Linked DNA regions of Homo sapiens: region 2 is linked to region 1. Evidence: promoter capture Hi-C in human tissues and cell types (Jung and others, 2019). All regions are on one chromosome and are shown on one strand. The core of a region is centred on a gene start or on the middle of the fragment in contact, and the rest is flanking DNA. Distances in the headings are between cores, read along the strand shown. Region 1 holds the start of YWHAE (tyrosine 3-monooxygenase/tryptophan 5-monooxygenase activation protein epsilon). Region 2 overlaps ABR (ABR activator of RhoGEF and GTPase).

Region 1 (3,847 bases), core at 936-3,435:
TATGATGACATCATCCTCCACGCAAAATCATACAGCTCCCTTGGCCACAAAATAGGATGCAAGATTGGGTGCGTTGGTGCAAGCCTGTAGTTTCCCAACTACTTGGGAGGCCAAGGTGGGATTGCTTGAACTCAGTTTAAGGCCAGTCTGTGCAACGTGGCAAGATCCCTCCCTCTCCCCACTTTATTTTTTGAGACAGGGTCTCGCTCTGTTACCCAGGCTGGAGTCCACTGGTGCAATCACAGTTCACTGCAGCCTCAACCTCCTGGACTCAGGAGATCCTCCTGCTTCAGCCTCTGAAACTGCTAAGATATGGCTCAGGCCTGTCATCCCAGCACTTTGGGAGGCCGAGGTGGGCAGATCACGAGGTCAGGAGATCGAGGCCACCCTGGCTAACATGGTGAAACCCCGTCTCTATTAAAAATACAAAAAATTGGCCGGGTGTGGTGGCATGTGCCCGTAGTCTCAGCTACTTGGGAGGCTGAAGCAGGAGAATTGCTTCAACCCGGGAGGTGGAGGTTGCAGTGAGCCGAGATCACGACACTGCACTCCAGCCTGGGCAACAGAGCGAGATGCCGACTCAAATAAAAAAAAAAAAAAACGTTTTTATAGACATGGAGTCTCGCTATGTTGCCCAGGCTGGGCTCAAGTCATCCTTCCGCATGGGCCTCCCAAGCGCCAGAAGCTGAAGCAATGTTCACTGAGTTATTCCTGCCTCCACAATCTTTATTTGATCTTGGTCCAACTCTTCTGTACCATGTACTCCACACCACCCTCATCTAACAAATTCCCTGCTCCTATTCATAGTGGGCCTAGGGAGGGAAAAAGGTTAAACAGGAGAAGACAAAGATCAGTGTGAGGGGAAAGTTGAGGCGTGAAAACTGGAGCTCCCCTGTCCCTGACAACTGTAACAGGGCCCAGTTCGTTTTTTTTCTTTTTCTTTGTTTTGAGACAGAGTTGTGCTCTTGTTGCCCAGGCTGGAGTGCAATGGTGTGCTCTCGGTTCACTGCACCCTCCCACTCCCGGGTTCAAGCGATTCTCCTGCCTCAGCCTCTGGAGTAGCTGGGATTACAGGCATGCACCACCACGCCCAGCTAATTTTTGTATATATATATAATTTTTCTTTTGAAACACAGTCTCACACTGTCGCCTGGGCTGGAGTGCAATGGGAGGATCTCGGCTCACTGTAACCTCCGCCTCCCGGGTTCAAGAGATTCTCCTGCCTCAGCCTCCTGAGTAGCTGGGATGACAGGCATGCACCACCATGCCAAGCTAATTTTTTGTATTTTTAGTAGAGACGGGGTTTCACTATATTGGCCAGGCTGGTCTCGAACTCCTGACCTTGTGATCCTCCCGCCTTGGCCTCCCAAAGTGCTGGGATGACAGGCATGAGCCGCCGCGCCCGGCCAGGGCCCGGTTCGTTACCCTGAGTCTAAAAGTGTCTGAAAAAGGCCCATGACCAGGCTTGGCCGAGAAAACTAGGACGTGGGCTGGGCGCGGTGGCTCACCCCTGGAATCCCAGCGCTTTGGGAGGCCGAGGGGGGGCGGATCATCTGAGGTCGGGAGTTCGAGACCAGCCTGGCCAACATGGTGAAACCCCATCTCTATTAAAAATACAAAAGCTGGGGGTGGTGGCGGGGGCCTGAAATCCCAGCTACTCGAGAGGCTGAGGCAGCAGAATCACTTGAACCCGGGAAGGCGGACGTTGTGGTAACCCGAGATCGCACCACTGCACTCCAGCCTGGGGAACAAGAGGGAAACTCCGTCTCAAAAAGAAAAAAGAAAAAAGAAAAAAGAAAAGAAAACCAGGGCGCGGTAGTGACAGCCTCAGATTTCGGGAAAGAAGACCTGCCATGACAGAAACCGTTACAGCCTCCGTCGTTCTTTTCCGCAGGTCGGGCCTCGGGCCCCGGTCTGACCCAGGTCTCTCGCTGGCTTTTTTCAGGAGCAGTCCCGGCCGGCCCCGCCTCAGCCCTTCTCGTTCCCCGGGGGCCGCTCCCTTTCGGCAGTCGCAGTTCCCGCCTCTGGGCTCCGGCGCCCGCTGAGCCGACAGAGGAGAGGCGTCTCGTGCGCTCGTTCCAGCCGCTTCGGGCGCCGAGTTCCAGGACCCGCCCCCCGCGCCAGTTGCCAGGGAGCGGTTGCCATAGAGCTGAGCAGTTGTCCGCGTGCGCAGGCGGAAGTCCCGGATTGAGGCGCCGCCATTTTTGCTGCCCGGACGCGGAGCGAGAGGCTGAGAGAGTCGGAGACACTATCCGCTTCCATCCGTCGCGCAGACCCTGCCGGAGCCGCTGCCGCTATGGATGATCGAGAGGATCTGGTGTACCAGGCGAAGCTGGCCGAGCAGGCTGAGCGATACGACGGTGAGTTGGGGGGGCAACGGGGGGCTGGAATTCTCGGACCCTCTGCCGCCGCCCACAGAGGCCGGGAACAGGAGACAAAATGGCGGCATCGTCTGCGAGCCTGGCCCGGGGGCTTGGGTTCGGGAAGCAGGAAATGGCCTGGGAGCTCCCGGGGCGATGGGAGGCTCTATGCCCTGGAATGTGACCCCTTCGCCGTCCTTAACTGCAAACAACTCGCGGGCCGGGAGGCCGGGGCGACGGGGTGGAGGAGTTGGTTGTAAAATGGCGGCTGGGGGGAGGGCGAGTCCCGGGGCGGGGGAGGGGGAGGAGATGGCGGGTGCTGTCTCCGAACGAGCCACCCTCATGGGAGCTTCTGGGACGGCCTTGGGATGTGGAGAACAATTGGGTGGGGTGACGGGGGAAGCAGCACCCGCCACATGGGAGAGAGCGAAGACCGGGAGCTGTAGCGCGGGCGCCTTTCAGGGAAATATGGCGGGTGGGGGCGGTGGCTTTTCCCCGGAGGCCCCGTGTGGGGCGGCGGCCGTGGAGTCTCACAAAGGAGGACCTTTGAGAGCGATGGGCTTCCTCAGGCCTGAGGTGGGGGACAGTCGTGGATGATGGTGGGGGGAGAGGGGTGAGTGGGAATCACTGCAGTTCGTCTTCGGGCGGTGGCAGGCTCCCATGCTGCGATCGGGTTTCTTTCCCGTAGGCCGGCACCTCGTAGTGAGGGGTTTCGGGGCTTTTCCTCCTCGTCGTCTTCTGGGGAGGCCCAGAAAATCCTCACTCCCTCCCTTTCCTCAGACTTAAAACAGGAGATCTCGAAGTTCCTGTAACCTTTCTCTGGCTCCATCACCCGTGGGTTCTGATGGATAGAACCAGGAGGCCACGACTCTGAGAGTTCGAGCCTTTGTAGAGCCCGAGCCTCCGTCCCCCCGTTTGTAAAAACGATGACTTTACAGTTTGTGCGCACCGTGATGACAAATGGGAAGACCTGTTGAAATAAAGTTATTTCCAATAGTGTTCAGTAACTGTATTTTGGTTGACTCTGCAGGCTCGGAATGCTGGTCTGTACTTCGTGGGGGATCTTAACCTATTCCAGGCGCTCGGCTGAGGCTGGGTTTTTTGAGTTATGAAGGTTGAAGATCCTGTTGCTTTCTTTTTTTCCGTTTTAAATAAATGGGTTTATGTAGAAATATTAGTAGGTCCTCTTTGTTCGTTGTTCTTTTGCCCCTAATGGGTTCTCCAGTCCTTTTTCAGAACTTCATCGAATGTCCATTGTGTCTGTCCAGTCATTGTCAGGAAGTTTATTCTTAATCCTCTCTCCCAGTCCACCTTTTGGACCACCTTTTGAAATACCCACACATTTATAATTGTGCGATACTGTAGTATTAAACGAAAGGTCATGTCTGTGGGTCCTGTGGTTTTAATGCTTTTGCGTGGTAGGGTGGGGTGAGACATGGTTGGAATCAAGTATCTTTGATTCTTAGATTTTTTTCCTAATTAAAATA
Region 2 (3,847 bases), core at 1,348-3,847, 340 kb after region 1:
CCTCCAGGTGGGATGGGCAGGGCAGGGTGAGTGTGCGCTTAATTGACAGGCTTTTACCTCTGAAAAAGCTGTGACTGGTGGCATTCCCCCTGCGGTGTGTGAGGGTGACTGTCCCCCACAGTGTCACAACACTGGCTGTGAACATTCTTTACAATTTTGCCAGTCCAGTGGGTTAAAAAGAACAAAACACCATAGAGGTGAATTCTAACTGAGGAGCTTGAGGATGGCCTTGGGAGCTGAGACTTGAAGCATAATGGTGGTTAATAAAAGGGAGGGGGTCCTTTACGAAACAGACAGAAACTTGGAACATTGAGGGAGCAGGCTCTGCCCGCAGAGGATGAATGTCTGGTGAGAGGGGGAGGCTGAGCCGACGGGACCTGGTGGGTTGTCTGCCGGGCAGGGAGGCTGGAACCCTGCCATGGGGGCCTTGGTGCCAGGCTAGCAGGTGGGGCTTCAGGCTGAAAGGTGTCTGAGGTTTCTTTAAGCAGGTGTCTCTGTTGTACCCAGGATTTAATGTGTAGAGGCAGCAGAGTGACAGTACAGAGAGGTTAATACTACTGTAATATTTGTATTATTTAGGGTTCTCAAGAGAAGGAGGCATAGCACCCCGCCCAGGGCCACGTGGAGAGGTGCCAGCTTTGAACAGGAGGCAGGAATGGAAAGAAAGTGTGGCCACAGCTTTTCTGTGGAGAAACAGGGCAGGGAAAGGGCTTGGCACCAGCTGGCTTCCGTTATGTCGGCAGCCCTGGGCTAGAGGAGTGGTCTCTGGTGACCTGGTCCCTGGCCCTGGGTGACGTGGGGCAGAGGAGATGCTGGCTTGGCGAGTGAGCGTCAGGTAGAGAAGGTGGTTGGGGACATGGGCTCTGGATCAGTGGGTGTGTGTATGAAAGCTGTGCTCATAGGGCATCACTGACAGGCTTAGGAATTAGTGAGCCCTGTGGGGGAGCAGTTTCTCACCCAGCTACCCGCCTCTCCTGCCACAAGATGTCAAAACATCACGAAATACGGAAAATGTAAAGAGCATGTTAACACACAGTGGAGTGTCGTGCTTAGTGCTGCTCGTGAGAAAGGCCCGAGTGTGAGGGGAACCCTCTGTGTCCCCATCTCCTGCAGAAAGCCAACAAAGGCCAGAGCCGGGCCATCGAGCGCCTGAAGAAGAAGATGTTTGAGAATGAGTTCCTGCTGCTGCTCAACTCCCCCACAATCCCGTTCAGGATCCACAATCGGAATGGAAAGGTCAGGATGGGTGGGGGTGGGACCAAGACAGCCCCTTCCTTAGTCCAGAGCAGCCCACTCTGTGGCTCCTGGCCCTGACCTGTACGAACCGGAAACTCAGGCCCCCTCTTCCTGAGGAGGCTGCCATGGCTCCAGCTGTTGACTCGCTCTCCCCTCTCGTGTGGAATGAGTGCCCTCTGCTGGCCGTCCCTGGCACAGCCGCTCCTGTCACCTTGGCTTCCCAGGAAGGAGCTCCCCCTTCACCCACCCACCCCCAGCTGCCTCCTCCTGCAAGGTCAGCTGTGCCTGGATAAGGAGGAGCTTTGGGCCGGGCACAGTGGCTCATGCCTGTCATCCCAGCACTTTGGGAGGCTGAGGCAGGCGAATCACCTGAGGTCAAGAGTTTGAGACCAGCCTGGCCAACATGGCAAAACTCTGTCTCTACTAAAAACACAAAAATTAGCCGGGCGTGGTGGTGGGCACCTGTAATCCCAGCTACTCAGGAGGCTGAGGCAGGAGATTGGCGTGAACCCGGGAGGTGGAGGTTGCAGTGAGCCGAGATTTTGCCATTGCACTAGAGCCTGGGCAACAAGAGCGAGACTCTGTCTCAAAAAAAAAAAAAAAAAAAAGATAAAAGGAGCTTTGTTGGGGTCCCCAGGATCTGGGAGTACGCTTTGCCTGACTGTGGTCACCCACTTTATGCTTATCTCCTCTCTTCAGAGTTACCTGTTCCTACTGTCCTCGGACTACGAGAGGTCAGAGTGGAGAGAAGCAATTCAGAAACTACAGAAGAAGGGTAAATTCCTGCCTCTTCCACGCTCCCCAATGATGTCCGTGGCATTGATGGGCCTTTTGTATTTCTAAGCGTTTCATGTCCAGTATCACGTCTTTGGCCCTCGCAGTCACCCTCAGAGGTGCCAGGGTGAGCGTTTAAGGATGTTACGGATTAATTGAGACCCAAAGAATCTAACTGATTGGCTGAAAGACATGATGATTTAGTCCTGGGACTGGACCCAGAGCCCAGCCTGGGCTTTCTCTCTCTCTCTACCTCTCTCTCTCTCTCACACACACACACACAGAGACACACACACACACACACACACACACATACACACATACACAGAGGCTGGGTACGGTGGCTTACGCCTGTAATCCCAGTCAGGAGTTTGAGATCAGCCTGGGCAACGTGGTGAAACCCCGTCTCTACTAAAAACACAAAAATTAGCCAGGTGTGGTGGTGGGCACCTGTAATCCCAGCTACTCAGGAGGCTGAAGCAGGAGAATCCCTTGAACCTGAGAGGCGGAGGTTGCAGTGAGCTGAGATCACAGCACTGCACTCCAGCCTGGGCGACAGAGTGAGACTCCGTTTAAAAAAAAAACGAAAACAAAACGCATACACCACACACACACACACACACACACACACACACACACACACACACACACACACACACACAAACCTCTTCAGTTAGATTCTCCTACTCTGACCCCTCTCGCAGCATCTACACCAGTCCTGCTGTGTCCACAAATCCTTCCCCCTCCCTCGCAAGGACCAAGTCTGCCCCAGGGATTAAGCCGTCTTCCTGCAGCAGCCCCCAGGGAAGAGCAGCCGGTCCTGGTGGACCAGTGCCCACGCTCCCTTCTCTCTCGGCTCTCCCTCCAGATCTCCAGGCCTTTGTCCTGAGCTCAGTGGAGCTCCAGGTGCTCACAGGATCCTGTTTCAAGCTTAGGACTGTACACAACATTCCTGTCACCAGCAATAAAGACGGTAAGCTCGGGAACCAGAGGTGGCCCAACCGGCAGGTCCCAGCCCTCAGAGCGTGGCCGGCTTCCCGTAAGGACTCAGACAGACATGTGGCTGTAAATGGCTGATCCCTGCTCGGCTGTGCTGAGACTGTTGAGTGGCCAGGACACAGCTTGGGTAGGGGTGACTGTCTACTGAGTTCCCAGATGACCCCAGCTTTTCCTTGGGCCCCTCTGTCTGGCTTGGGAGAACTGGCACCCTGGTGCACTGAGATTGTGCTGTTAATATATTCATGAGAGAGCAGACCCGGTAGATAAAATGGTGTATGGGAAATGAGGCTGGAAGTTTCCAGGGACCAGCTCTTGAAAGGCCTTGAATCCCAAGCAAGGGAGTTTGGAATTCATGCTGTAAGCCCGGGAGTCTGGGGGGGTTTTGAGCAGTGGGGAGCTGTGATCAGGGCTGGGAACTGACCGGAGTGGGTGTATTCTAGCTGCCTGTGTGCTGGGAAAGGGTCCACTTTGTGAACGGGGTCCTGAAGGCAAGCTTTCCTCGACATAAATCATTAGCAGAATGATTTATCATATTGGTCAGTTTTCAGTGCCAGGATAGGCAGGATTTGGAGGGAGAGACAGTACCCATGGGGAATGGTACTAAGTCCCTGGGCCAGGATGGTGGGTGTGCTGGACCCCCCCAGGCTGAGTGGAGGAGAGAAGGACCCCCTAGCCCTACCCCGGGCAGCTCACATATAAGGCCGCCGTGGCCTTCGGAAACTTTTTCATCTGGCCACCAGGTGGTGATGTTGGACCAAGACTCAGCTGAGTCTCATACCCCGTCTGCCTCCCGCCGGCCTGGGGTGGAGGCTGAGGGGATCCGCTGACCACCCTCTGC

Evidence for each region. Contacts are between HindIII fragments. The study calls those that stand out against the background at their distance.
Region 2: a contact is called between a fragment that was not itself captured here and the fragment with the promoter of YWHAE in region 1, in 1 of the 25 tissues and cell types used here (pancreas).

What each region holds. Positions count from the first base shown.
Region 1 is chr17:1,398,560-1,402,406 of GRCh38, reverse strand. It overlaps YWHAE (tyrosine 3-monooxygenase/tryptophan 5-monooxygenase activation protein epsilon), which reads left to right and starts at 2,185. Exons shown (of 6, transcript NM_006761.5): 1 at 2,185-2,360. The coding sequence starts at 2,297. RefSeq lists enhancers at 1-128, 129-744, 1,687-2,324, 2,325-2,962, 2,963-3,600. The HindIII fragment of the contact is 19,322 bases long and covers 1-3,847 here.
Region 2 is chr17:1,056,134-1,059,980 of GRCh38, reverse strand. It overlaps ABR (ABR activator of RhoGEF and GTPase), which reads left to right. Exons shown (of 23, transcript NM_021962.5): 11 at 1,114-1,236; 12 at 1,936-2,011; 13 at 2,879-2,983. Among named protein-coding and RNA genes, the nearest start is that of MIR3183, 35 kb to the right of the region's middle. The HindIII fragment of the contact is 4,335 bases long and covers 430-3,847 here.